5 separate regions of the Homo sapiens genome follow, and regions 1, 2, 4 and 5 are each linked to region 3. Evidence: promoter capture Hi-C in 16 types of primary human blood cells and fetal thymus (Javierre and others, 2016). All regions are on one chromosome and are shown on one strand. Each heading gives the region's core, a stretch centred on a gene start or on the middle of the fragment in contact. The rest is flanking DNA. Distances are from core to core; before and after follow the strand shown.

The links. Contacts are between HindIII fragments. The CHiCAGO score rates a contact against its expected background, and 5 or more counts as called.
Region 1: a fragment that was not itself captured here is called in contact with the fragment with the promoter of PRKACG in region 3 in 12 of 17 cell types (erythroblasts, megakaryocytes, M1 macrophages and 9 more); the score reaches 11.8 in erythroblasts.
Region 2: a contact is called between a fragment that was not itself captured here and the fragment with the promoter of PRKACG in region 3, in 10 of 17 cell types (erythroblasts, megakaryocytes, M1 macrophages and 7 more). The highest score is 16.8, in erythroblasts.
Region 4: a fragment that was not itself captured here is called in contact with the fragment with the promoter of PRKACG in region 3 in 12 of 17 cell types (M1 macrophages, megakaryocytes, M0 macrophages and 9 more); the score reaches 14.3 in M1 macrophages.
Region 5: a fragment that was not itself captured here is called in contact with the fragment with the promoter of PRKACG in region 3 in 8 of 17 cell types (erythroblasts, megakaryocytes, monocytes and 5 more); the score reaches 17.5 in erythroblasts.

The regions. Positions count from the first base shown.
Region 1 is chr9:68,743,260-68,745,959 of GRCh38, reverse strand. The region is part of intron 2 of PIP5K1B (phosphatidylinositol-4-phosphate 5-kinase type 1 beta); the gene reads right to left. Among named protein-coding and RNA genes, the nearest start is that of PABIR1, 35 kb to the left of the region's middle. RefSeq lists a silencer at 1,737-1,931. The HindIII fragment of the contact is 165 bases long and covers 1,296-1,460 here.
Region 2 is chr9:68,688,956-68,691,655 of GRCh38, reverse strand. No RefSeq gene overlaps it. Among named protein-coding and RNA genes, the nearest start is that of PIP5K1B, 15 kb to the left of the region's middle. The HindIII fragment of the contact is 2,312 bases long and covers 99-2,410 here.
Region 3 is chr9:69,012,703-69,015,402 of GRCh38, reverse strand. It overlaps PRKACG (protein kinase cAMP-activated catalytic subunit gamma), which reads left to right and starts at 1,290. Exons shown (of 1, transcript NM_002732.4): 1 at 1,290-2,700. The coding sequence starts at 1,311. The coding sequence ends at 2,366. The HindIII fragment of the contact is 8,295 bases long and covers 1-2,700 here.
Region 4 is chr9:68,668,969-68,671,668 of GRCh38, reverse strand. No RefSeq gene overlaps it. Among named protein-coding and RNA genes, the nearest start is that of PIP5K1B, 35 kb to the left of the region's middle. RefSeq lists an enhancer at 2,036-2,588. The HindIII fragment of the contact is 425 bases long and covers 1,086-1,510 here.
Region 5 is chr9:68,708,125-68,710,824 of GRCh38, reverse strand. All of the region lies in intron 1 of PIP5K1B (phosphatidylinositol-4-phosphate 5-kinase type 1 beta), which reads right to left. Among named protein-coding and RNA genes, the nearest start is that of PIP5K1B, 4.2 kb to the right of the region's middle. The HindIII fragment of the contact is 4,887 bases long and covers 1-2,700 here.

The sequences.
Region 1 (2,700 bases), core at 129-2,628, 270 kb after region 3:
CCGAATAAAACAGACATGAATTTTCCTTTATGGGGCTTACCATTTGATGTGAGAGTAAGACACTAAATAGCTTGTATAATTTATTTGGAAACGTTATCATTTATAATATAAGATGTACTGTGAGGGAAATAAAGGGAATTGCGGTAACAGAAAACAGAAAATTAGGGGAGATCTACTTAGGTGGGGTTTGAACAAAGAAGTCTTTACTAAGGAAGGAACATTAAGGAATCCTAAAGGAACAGAAGGAGCTGGCAACACAGAGTGGGAGCAGGCAGCAGAGAGGGAGCTTCCTGGATGGAAGATTCAGGTGGAGCACAGGCCCTTGGAGCAGGATGGAGGGCAGGAGAGGAAGAGGCTGGAGTGAAGTGGACATTCCTGTCTACTCCCAGGAGCCTTTTCTATGCTGTGTGTCATGTGCATCTCCAAGAGCTAAGGATAAGCCCTGCTTCCCAAGAAAGTATTACAGAATGTCAAAATGGGATGTGTCAAACAAGCCGCTAAGATGGATGAGATACCAGGTTCCAAAGTGAAGTGCCAGGCCTAGATGCAGTTTTTCAAAGAACATAGCCCAAAACCTTTTTCACTGGTCTTAAACCTCTTACCTACGGTGTGGCTACAAGTAGGTCAGACTGCTTGTTGGTGGCTAAAAGGAGAGAATGATTGAAGCAAGCAGGCTGCAGTCCAGTCTGGTCCTAGCCTAAAGGACTAAGCTTAGGAAGAGATAAGAGTACCTGCCCCTCCCTGCTTCTCCCCCTTCCAGCCTCATGAGGGGGCTCAACAGGACTACCTGGAGAGCATGAGGCTCTTACGATGTGGAAGGCACTGTGACCTTGTTTGGGACTTCTGCCTAAGAAATCTGAAGAACTGGAGAGCTGGCTGGATGCTGACGGACAAGCCAAAGGAAACGACAGTTGCCCTGGGAGCAGCCTGCCCTCTCCCAGTTGGTGGGAACAAAGGAAGTGTGAGTGTTTCCCATGGACCACACCATGAGCATATGTACAGGGCTATATATTAGGGTCTTCCCAACAAGGGCCACCTGGACAGCAATAGAACCCAGCAGACAGGAGTACGAATGGATTGGTGGGCTTTCTAGAGACTGTGGAAACAGTCTGCAATTAGGCTGAAGAGAGTGCAGCAGCCCCACCAAGGAAATTGGAGGTGAGAGGCCCCCAGAGACAAGGTGAGAGGGTATCTCCAAAGAACCCACAAAAGGGCCCCACAAGAGAAAGAATCAACTCTAAACACCCACAACACAAAAAGAGCTCTCCTATGATACCGCCTGCCTAGTAAAAGCTTTCCTACACTCCTTCCTGTTCCCCACCCAGCCCCTCACCCCAGTCCAGAAGTCATAGCTACTGAGTAAGCAAGAGAAAAAGCCTCCAACCACAGCCCCCTCTCCCTGCAACAGGCCCTAGCCAGGGGAAGGGGAGCAGTTATAAATATGAATGAAGCTGGAAGCTTTAACTATCCCATGATACTAGACATTTTAAATATCTGGCAAATTAAAGTGGGGCTTTTTATTATATATGAGGAATCAGAATAGCCACGTGATATGTTTTCATCCAAAAAACAGGGGAAATGCTTTCCACTGAATAAATTTTAATGGGAGAGTGGGAGACTTGATGAAGTTGTTTTTTCGTGGCCTCCCATGAAACCTATTTGTTCAAGGCAGATTATACATAGAACCCCATTGTGTTAGCACATCTCGTGGAAAATGTACTTTCCAAAAATGAGGCCCAGCATGCCCCAGCTTGAGGATGAAGATCACTGTGGTTTGTGGGTCCACCTTGTAACATTGTCCATCCTTGGCCAGGCCATGCAGAGCCTTCAGTATCTATGGCAACTGAGGCTACGGACCTCCTGCATACATCAGTGGTTCTCGTTCTTACACCTTCCTCCTTTTCCAGGAAGACAAATGTGTTTCAGGAAGGAATCCCTATCACCAAGAACCCCCACTAAGCTCAGCCCTGATCCTCCTGAAACAAGCTCTGATTGAGTTCCCAATATTGTGCTTTATGAGTCTTCTTCTTAGATGTCACCCTAACAGGATTCCCGGTACATTCATCTGGCACCCAGTTGAGAAGGCCAGAGCCTCAACCCATACTCAGCAGGAAACCCAAGGAGAATCAATAGAAGGACAGGGGCCTCTTTAACTCCACCCATTCAATCTCCCATTGTCTTAGTGTCATGAAAAGCAAATCTTAACATGCAGGGCAGTAAAACATGACACAGAACTCATCTTCAATAAACTGGCACTTTGGTTAAGCAAATGTGAAAAGTCAACAGCCACAGCATCCTTATATGCCAGTGGGTTTTGGCAAATCAACATACACTGACCAAGTCTTTCTGATATTGGAAATATTGCTTACCAAATCTACACCATGTGAAAGGGATTTCTCCTCACACATATGCAGTGTTCTTATGAAAGCTCATTCAAAACTGACATTAAAAGACATTTTGGGCCAAGCCTGCCTCGTGCCTGTAATCCCAACAGTTTGGGAGGCTGAGGCAGGATGATCACTTGAGCCCAGGAGTTTGAAACCAGACTGGGCACATAGCGAAACCCCAACTTTATACTGGAATAAAAAATTAGCCAGGCATGGTGGCATGGAAATGTAGTCCCAGCTACTCAGGAGGCTGAGGCAGGAGGATTGCTTGAGCCTGGAAGGTCAAGGCTGAAGTGAGCTATAGTTGTGCCAC
Region 2 (2,700 bases), core at 5-2,504, 320 kb after region 3:
GGTCCTAAGATTGTTGGTAAAACTCAATTGCAAAGCTGCCTTCAACTTTGTGTGGACTTAAGTGTGGGTAGCATTTTAGCAAAGAGGACCCCGAAGCTTTAAATTCTGCCTGTAGGATGCTGGCATGTCAGGTGCAGGAGATGTGAGTTAATGGTCTCAACTGTTCCAAGAGTAGCAGCTGCAACAAAAGCTCAGCCCTTTCCTCATACAGAAATGAGAGTGTGAAAGTAGTGGGTGGGATAAGAAGAGAATGAAACCACTGGAAAAAAAAAATGCCTTTTTCTGCTGCTCTCAAGAGTTCCCTGGAGAACCCAAAAAGGACAATCTTTGGTTTCATTGCAGACCTTTCTGCCTTTTGTTCCTTGAAGTCCCAGACATACTTTTTTCTGTTTCATGAACATGCCAAACTATTTTATGCTCAAGGTATTTAAACTTGCTGTTCCCTTTGCTGGGAAGGCTCTCAATCTGGGTCTTCCATGGCCATCTTTTTCCCTTTAAGTAAACCTTCGTTCCTACGTTGTCTTCTTCAATAGGACATTCCTGATCATTGCATTGAAAGATTTCCTGTAATAGCCTAACCTTCCCTCTAACACACACACACACACACACACACACACACACACACACACACACACACACACACAGACATCAGTTTTATTCAATGTATTGATACACATGAGTGAAAGGCTTAGAATAGCACATTATAAGTCTTCGGTATTATTAGGTATCATTTTTTCCATAATACCATTTTGTATCTAAATGTATCTTGTATATTTATATACTGATTTTCAATGGTTAGTCTACCCTTCTTTCTTATTAGCTCCCCAAGAGCAGGGACCTTGGCTGTTTTGTACATTTCCATATCTCTAGCACCGAGAATAAAGCCTGGTACTTGCTGGGTGCTCAATAACCATTGTTGAAAGGGTACATTAACTACAGAAAAAAGTATGACACCGGGAAAAAAAGGCTAAAAGATAATCACTGATAATGTTGGGTAGTGAGCTTCAGAGGTTTGTTTTCTTCTCTCTAGCTTTTCACATATTCCAAATTTTTACAAATAGCATGTGTTCTTTTTAATCCTAAAAGAGTTTAATTTTTGCAAAAAGACTTACGTTGGCATGCCATACAAAAATGTCAGTTGATAAATTTCTGCAGGCATGTTGCAGATTACAACCTTTGGATCTGTATACAACCACTTCTTAAATCAGAAGTCTGACGTTCTTCAGGAAGAACTCTCAGCATTATGTCTCTTGGTATAATAAATACAAATGCAGGCCCTACTGAAAGCCCCCTGGGGGGGGTCTGACAAGTCACATTCCATCAGCGGCCACGTACCATGTGACCAGCCACCCGCCTCTTTATCTCTAGCTCCTTAAGTCAGGAGTTTCATTTGGCTCCAGACCTTGGCACTACGAAGGTCAGCCAAGGTCGGGGCTCAAGTAAGAATGACTCACCCTGCTCTGTGCTCTCCACTGGGCACAGGCTGGAGCATGATGAATGCTGTGATTTTCCAGGCTCAACTCCCAGGAGGTGAGGTTCATTCCCTGAAACACTGGACCATGAAAGAAAACCCAGAGCATCCACCAAAGTGTTGTTTAGCATTTAGAAAACAAAAAAGAAGCCTCTACTGTCTGGTCCTATCCAGTGTAGTTCTGAATCAAAGTTGACCACCCAGTATAAACACCACTTTTTAGGCTTGTGCAAAGGGGGTTAATCATGATGCTTTTTAAAAAATAATGATTGTGCAAGATTGCACACACGCACCCAAGTATTAACAATAATACAATAAGCAATTACAATATCAGGGCCAGGTTTTATAAGATTTTTGTATGCCTGATTTACTTTGGAGTCTCTTGCCTTTAAAAACAAACAAACAAACAAACAAACAGAATATTATAGATACAGTAAAACTACTCCCAATTTCACTCCTTTCCTTCCTTCCCAGTGGCACTCAGTAACATAAAGTAACTTTATCATTCCTTTACATGTTTTTATATATCCATATATTCATAAACTTTGTTAAATTTTTTGCCCATTTTAAACCTTTATATAAGTGTTACCTTATCTTATGTATGATTTTGCAACTTTAATTGTTGTTCAGCATTACATTTATGAGATTTATCTTTGTGGATATATGAGATTTATCTTTGTGGATATATATGTGGATACATTTGCTAGTTTTACATGTCAGCGTGGCTAGATCAGTTAATCAGTTAAACACTAGGTGTTTCTGTGAAGGTATTTTGTAGGTGTGATTAAAGCCTGTAATCAATTGGATTTAAGTAAAGAAGATTAGCCTAGATAATCTGAATGGACTTCATTCAATTGGTTGAAAGGCATTAGAAAGGCAATTGAAAGGCATAGCCAAGGATTCCCTGGAGAAGAAGAGATCCCACCTGTGAACCAAGCTTCAGCTTAGGACTGATGGTTCCAGCCTGCCCTTCCTGACAGTCTCCCCTATGGATTTCAGACATGCCTAGCCAGCCTCCACAATCACACACAAGCCAGTTCCTTGGAATAAACCTCTTAATATATATCTCTCACTAGTTCTCTTTCTCTGGTTGGGCTCTGACTGATGCAATATACTTGTCATTTTATTCATTCATTCATTCCTTTAGAGACAGAATCTTGCTTTATCAGGGTGGAGGGCAGTGGCATAATCATAGCTCATTACAGCCTTGACCTCCTGGGCTCAAGCGA
Region 3 (2,700 bases), core at 41-2,540:
ACATTCTTCTCAAGTGCATATGGGCCATCTACCAAGATAGATCATATTCTGGGCCATAAAATGAGCCCCAAGAAGTGTAAAACATTTTAGGTCACACAGAGTATGTTTTCTAACAATGGAATTAAATCAGAAATCAATAGGAAAATTCTTGAAAAATCCCCAAGTATTTGGAAACGAAATAATATACTTTTAAATAGCTTATCTGTCAAAGAAGATGAAAAGGGAGCTTAGAAAATATTTTGAGCTGGATGAAAAGGAAAATACAACATACCAAAATTTGTGGGATGCTGCAAAAAATAATACTTAGGAGGAAATTTATAGCACTAAGTGATTGTAATAGAAGAAAGATTTCAAATCAGTGACCTTAGTTCCCACCTTAGGAAATAAGAGCAATTAAACCCAAAGCAAACAGAAGAAAGGAAATCATATGTATGTGTTAAAATAAAACATTACATGCAGTAAAACTGAATTTTGGGGGGAAGTATACAGTTCTTTGAGGTGTTTGTTTGTTTGTTTGTTTGTTTTTGAGATGGAGTTTCACTCTTATTGCCCAGGCTGGTGTGCAGTGGCACGATCTCTGCTCACTGCAACCTCTGCCTCCCAGGTTCAAGCAATTCTCCTGCCTCAGCCTCCCGAGTAGCTGGGATTACAGGCATGCGCCACCACGCCTGGCTAATTTTTTTGTATTTTTAGTAGAGACGGGGTTTCACTATGGTGGTCAGGCTGGTTTCGAACTCCTGACCTTGTGATCCGCCCGCCTCGGCCTCCCAAAGTGTTGGGATTACAGGCTTTAGCCACTGCGCCCGGCCAGTTCTATGAGTTTTAAAACAAATGTAGACCACCACCCAATACATTGTAACCACCAGCACAATCAGGATACAAACATGTCCCACCACTTCCCACATTCCCTCAGGCTGTCCCTTCATAGTCCAACCGTCCCCTAACCCCAAGCCCTGGCAATCACTGATCTGTTCTCTCACACTATAGTTTTGCCTTTTCTGGAATGTCATAGAAATGGATTCATACAGTAAGTCTCCTTTAGAGTTGGCTTCTCTCACTTGCATAATGCCTTTTGGATTTATCCATATTGTTGAGTGCAGCGGCGTGATCTTGGCTCACTGAAGCCTTGACCTCCCAGGCTCAAGAAATCCTCCCATCTCAGCCTCCCATGTAGCTGGGAATATAAGCGGAGGCCGGGCGGGGGTCGCAGCGCCGCAGCCAGCGCAGCCAGCCCCAGGGGGCGCCATCTCCGCCGCTGCCGCCGCCGCCGCCGCCGCCGCGAGACCCCCGCCCCTGCCGCCGCCACCGCCATGGGCAACGCCCCCGCCAAGAAGGACACCGAGCAGGAGGAGAGCGTGAACGAGTTCCTAGCCAAAGCCAGAGGAGATTTCCTCTACAGATGGGGAAACCCCGCTCAAAACACCGCCAGCTCGGATCAGTTCGAACGGCTCAGGACGCTGGGCATGGGCTCCTTCGGGCGGGTGATGCTGGTGAGGCACCAGGAGACCGGCGGCCACTACGCCATGAAGATCCTCAACAAGCAGAAGGTGGTGAAGATGAAGCAGGTCGAGCACATACTGAACGAGAAGCGCATCCTGCAGGCGATCGACTTTCCGTTCCTCGTCAAGCTCCAGTTCTCCTTTAAGGACAACTCCTACCTGTACCTGGTGATGGAGTACGTGCCGGGTGGGGAGATGTTCTCCCGCCTACAGCGCGTCGGAAGGTTTAGCGAGCCCCATGCCTGTTTCTATGCCGCCCAGGTCGTCCTGGCCGTCCAGTACCTACACTCGCTCGACCTCATCCACCGCGACCTGAAGCCCGAGAATCTCCTCATCGACCAGCAGGGCTACCTGCAGGTGACGGACTTCGGTTTCGCCAAGCGCGTGAAGGGCCGCACTTGGACCTTGTGCGGGACCCCAGAGTACCTGGCCCCCGAGATCATCCTGAGCAAAGGCTACAACAAGGCCGTGGACTGGTGGGCCCTAGGGGTGCTCATCTATGAGATGGCCGTGGGCTTCCCACCCTTCTACGCCGACCAGCCCATCCAGATCTACGAGAAGATCGTCTCTGGGAGGGTGCGGTTTCCCTCCAAACTCAGCTCTGACCTCAAGCATCTGCTGCGGAGCCTGCTGCAGGTGGACCTCACCAAGCGCTTCGGAAACCTCAGGAACGGGGTTGGCGACATCAAGAACCACAAGTGGTTCGCCACAACCAGCTGGATCGCCATCTATGAGAAGAAGGTGGAAGCTCCCTTCATCCCGAAGTACACAGGCCCTGGGGATGCCAGTAACTTTGACGACTACGAGGAGGAAGAGCTCCGGATCTCCATCAATGAGAAGTGTGCCAAGGAGTTTTCTGAGTTTTAGGGGTGTGCTTGTGCCCCTGTGGGTTTTCTTTCCTTTTTGTTTTTGGTGGTTTGGGGGATGGGAGGGTTGGATTGAACAGCCAGAGGGCCCCAGAGTTCCTTGTATCTAATTTCATCCTCACCCCACCCTCCAGGGTTGGGGGAGCAGGAAGCCCAGATATTTGGAGGAACAGAAACACCAGCTGCTCCCTCACCCCCCCCCATGCCTTCCTGGTCCCTCTGTGCTTCTCTCTTTCTCCTCCCACAGGGTCCCCCTTGCCCCAGCCCCCTTCTGCCTGTTTTAAACGAGTTTCTCAGCTCTATTCAGGCCAGGTCTTGCTGTTGTATCAAGGGAC
Region 4 (2,700 bases), core at 49-2,548, 340 kb after region 3:
CTCAACACATAGAAATGGTAAAGTTTATGGTGATGGATCTCCTAAACATCCTGAAGTAGAAGTACACATTCTACGCATGTGACACAATGTCACATGTACCCCATAAATATGTACAAAACCCAAACCAACAAACAAAAAAATAATCACAAAGGGCCTGAGATTTCATAATAGCTACTGGAAAGCTAACAATTTAGCCAGCCAAGTTTCATGGATGCTGGTAGAAGGCATAGAACTCCTGGGTCAGAGACAAAGGACAGTTTTTAACTCACAGCAATGGTAGTAGCCAGAGTAGCAGCATTTTTGGGCCAGTTCTTCAAGTCCTGATGCCCCTGGGGTAATGTGGAGAGGGTCAAGTGACACCAGCACACACAGTAAGCTGCACTATAAGGAGAGGAATAGAGAGAACTTAGGACAGCCTCATGTTTTATAATGGATGGTAAACACGCTTCCCTTTTACTATCTCTAAACTCCAATGCTTGATGCTTCCTAGAAAGACATTACCTCTCTCTCTCAATGTGTTTACTATACAAAAATCCTTGAAAAGTTAGCCAAGAACAAAGATAGTCCATGCCTCCGCTCACAAGATATATGGAAACAAGAATCCCATGAAGAATGGTCTTTTGACACTGACAACCCAGGCTACATTGATGTTGCCTTCCTCTGTGTTTCTAAAACAGTATTTGTCTAGCTTGAGTGATGTGCAAAGCACTTCTGAGAAAACAAATTCTCATAGGCCTCCTAGGGTTCTCTTAAGCACTTATATTGTAATGTTATTTAAGTACAAGTAAGCCTAGGTGTATTCTCATTGTGCTCGTAGCTCTTACATACTAGAAAAAAGGGCAAGGAGTATAAATGCAAACCAAAACAAGAAAAGCAATCAATTTCATATTTACAATATTAAATTATTTTTACAGAAATTATTGCTTGGCTAAAACTAAATTGTCGATGTAGGCTTTAGTACTAAAAAGAAAACAAGTCCATATCTACATTTACCCTGCTCTTGTTTTTTTATTTCAACAATATCAGTGTGAATAATGCCTATTTGCAAAATATTTTGTACAAAACAGTATTAATAACAATAAGCTTTTGTTTGCTAATTCAGGGTTATTATACCTTATAGTTAACCTAAGTTAAAAAGCAATTTTAAAATAAACAAAGAAAAAAAGAAAAAAGAAAACAAAACAAAAAAGCAATTCTAATGTTACACTGCTTTATAGACTCTGAAAAGTTACATTCTCTTAAAATTTCTTAGCTTTACTGAATTACCAAATGTGTACTAAATGTGTTTGTCTAATTTAGTTATTGGTGGCATCAGCATATCTGGGTTCTTTTTTTCCTTGCAGATGTCAAAAACAAATTTCTAGTTTTATTAAAGAGTTGATAAGAATATTGACAGAATCCTGTACATATCAGAAATAGAATTTTATGAATAATTTGATCTTCAGTCAAGTTTTCTTTCTATCGCAGTCACTTTGACTTTACCTAGGATATTTAAACTCCTGTGAAAGCTTTGCTCATCCAGAGGAGTCCCATGTCCTTTGGCCATTCATTGGCTGTAGCACCTCATTTACACTTCACATCCACTAGAACAGTCGCAGCCGTATGTTACTGCTTGACCACAGTATGTTAGTGTAAATGATGGCAAATCTAAAAGTCTCAAGTTATTGAATAACATGAGAGACTAAAATATTACTATAGAAATAGGTTTTGTGATGGCAAATCATCACCAGACAGGATTTTGATATGAGGAGAGAGGTGGGCACAGCCTTCTTCCTGACAATTTGACATTGGAACATAGCTATCCATAATAATAGTGCTCAGACACTAAAAGTCAGTAAAAGTCAAAATCTCTAATTTGTGGAAATTGCTTAACAATTATACATACATAAATGTCATATGCAGAACATACTTAAATCACTTTTTGATTATCCTAATCAGAAAAAAATAACATTAGAAAATTTTTGTTGAGAATTGAGGATCCCCAAGAGTCTGTCCGAAGGCCCGCAGGAGTTCATGGACAAAGTCTGAGAAACCTGTTGCCAGGAAGCATCTTTGCCAGTGGTATGCGCCACGGGTCTTTTCATTTCTTACTTCCTTCCTAGCTATTTTCCATCTCCAGATTTTATTGCTTTTCTGTCTCTTAGAACTGACCTCCAACTCTTCACACAACAAACACACTGACCTTTCTCTCTTCCCTCTCAGTCACTTCCTGCGGCTTTCTCAGCCTAATGCAGCCCTCTTCCTCATGAGTGGCCATTCTTTTGGCATCTACCCAGGAGGCTTAACAACAGCGACTGTTTTCCTCAACTGGAGAGACACTTAGGCACAAAGACATCAAGGGCTTTGCCTGAATTCACTCCTCGGGCCAGGGATCAGGCCCACCTCTTCACCTCCTTTTACATATTTACTCCGATAGGCGGGTCCCCGCAGTCACGATTACACACAGTGAGCACCAGACCCTGCAAAAAGATAGCACCAATGAGGAGGGTCACAGTTCCTGCTACAACAGCTTTTGTTGTTGTTGTTGTGTTTATTGAGATCAGTGGTTTTTAAACATTTTTTTTTTAACAACTGTGGTAAAATACACATAACTTAAATTTACCATCTTAACCATTTTGAAGTATGTAGTTCGTTGGTTTTAAGTACATTCACTTTCCTGTACAACTGTCACCACCATCCATCTCCACCATCCATCTCCAA
Region 5 (2,700 bases), core at 130-2,629, 300 kb after region 3:
AAACATGTTACATATTCATTGTTTATTGAGTCCCATAAACAATACAGAAGACTTCCTACAAGAACACACACTTCATGTTGTTTATTCCAGTGCTAGTTTGTTTTAACTTAAAATGATAATACCAAGGCACTGTCAGCTTACTGAACATGCAACCTTGTCCCAATCACTCTGTTTCAAATCTTTCCAAGAGTAATCTAGTTTGGGCAGGATTCCTGTGTTTTCCTGTGTGATTATCTCCTTTATATACCTCTGATGAAGCGATACAGAAGTAAATACAATTGAGAATAGAATGTACAAAAGCAAGCCTGTTTTCCCTGACCTAATCTTATATATGAAAAGGAACCTGACTGAATACAATTCTCTGTCAATAGCAGCTGATTGTTTACGACACAGTACCCCAAAAATTTCATCATAAATTAAGTTTAAAGTTGATTTTTAAAAAGAAAAAAAATAAAACAGAAGCCTAGGTTTCCTCCCACCCCAGTTCTCTGGCACTCAGCAAAAAGTAACACATCCTGCTCTATTGATAAGACCACAAATGAACAGTAGAGCTACATAATGTACAGTTCTAACTGGCCAGCTTCTAAAAAAAAATGAAGGATTCCTTCCAACTCCCATTAATGCACTTGATACAAAGAGAACATGTTTCAGCAACAAATACATTTAGGACTTGATGTTTTACAGAATCTACTGAAGGCTCTGGCCATAGGGGGAAAAAAAAATTTCCAGGATATTAAATGTTCTGACTCACCATCTAACAGAAGTACAAGCAAAATGCAAATGCAAATTGAATGTATACATATTTATGACTTTACCAGCTGCATGACAAGGCTACCTTTGGCTTCTGGCTTTATATATCAGGAAGAGAAGTTGAGAATACCAGCATACATTTGTGTTTCTTTTCCTTTCTTTTCTGAGACAAGGCCTTGCTGTGTCACCCAGGCTAGAGTACAGTGGTGCGATCATAGCTCACTGCAACCTTGAACTCCTAGGCTCCAGTGATCCTCTCACTTCAGCCTCCCAAGTAGCTGGGACCACAGGCACGTGCCACCATACCCAGCTAATTTTTTATTTTTGCATAGATGGGGTCTTGCTATGTTGCCCAGGCTGGTCTCAAACTCCTGGGCTCAAGTGATTCGCCCACCTCGGCCTCCCATGGGATTACAGGTCTTTGGTTTCTATTTGAACAGTTTCCTCTCTCCCAGCACTGATTGGAGCAAAGTATTATTTCTGAGTCTGGTGATGCACATAAGCCAGAAGAATCATAGTGAATAGATAAAAACAAACATTTTGGCCGAGCACAGGGTCTCACACCTGTAATCCCAGCACTGTGGGAAGCCGATGCCTGTGGATTGCTTGAATCCACGAGTTACAGACCAGCCTAGGCAACATGGTGCAACCCTGTCTCTGCCAAAAATACAAAAATTAGCCAGGCATGGTAGTGCGTGCCTGTTGTTGCAGCTACTCAGGAAGTTGAGGTGGGAGGATTACCTGAGCCTGGGGAGGTTGAGGCTGGAGTTGGGCCACTGCACTCCAGCCTGGGAAACAGAATGAGACCTTGACTCAAAAAACAAAAAAAAAGTAAAGAGAAAAAAACATGTTATTTTTAATGGCATCTGCTTGGGCAAGAAAACTTAAACATATAAATGCTAAACCATTTTCAAATGTACTAACTCTCTAATAATGATAGTAAACAGAAGTTTTCTGTTAATCTCTATGATTTCTAAAAGTCAAAACTGTACCTTCACCATAGAACTCCTGGGACAAACTCAAATATGAACCTTCTTAAGAATTCCACATTGATCTTGGTCCTCCTGCTATCATCTTTGTGACCATAAGTAAGTCAATTCACCTAAGTTTTAGTTTTCTTACCCATAAACGGTACTTCTAAACTAATTAATATTTAAATTCTTTATCAGAAGGAAACATACATCAATCCCCAATGTAAATTGCAGATCCATTAATAATATTTAAGATCACTATATTCTTTCTTATCATTCTTCCAAACATAAAAACACTACTTGTCTGTATATAAAGAGGAGGAGTAGAAAGAGAAGATTGTTAAAAGGAACAGAAACTAGGTTGGTTTTGTTAACTAGGTTCCCCCTCTGAAACCACGAGACAGTATTAGCATCTCCTGAAATTTATTCAATACCCTGTTTTAAAAACAGAATGGTTGGTTTCCCCATGTCAAGACATACCCTTTCATAAAATGGGACAAGTCAATTTCTAGGAATGTATCTTTCAGCAGCTGTAATACTAACAACTAAAGGGGCGGGGGGGCGGCAAACAAAAGAGCATAACATAGATGACATGAGTCTACTGTCTAGGGAGAAAGAAAAGCTCTTCCCTATATGATGCCTTCAGAAAAGAGAGCAACAATGGGCTCTGTACCCGCCAGCTTCAGGAGGCACATGCCTGTAGGCAAATTATCTTATGTGTTGGGAATTTACATGGTAAGATGCTTTCTATGTTTTACAGCATATGTTTTCCTTATGAATGACTTCATTCACCCCCTTCATTAATTCAACAGCTATTTACTGAGCACTTACTTTATGCAAACCATAAAGCTAAAAAAAAAAAGTTATGAGCTTACAATTAGAATATTCAAGTAAGCCCTGACATGTACCTTACAGTACTTTAACCCCTCAGAATATTTTCAAGTCAAACAGTAAACTAAACAATATACTGTAGATGTTA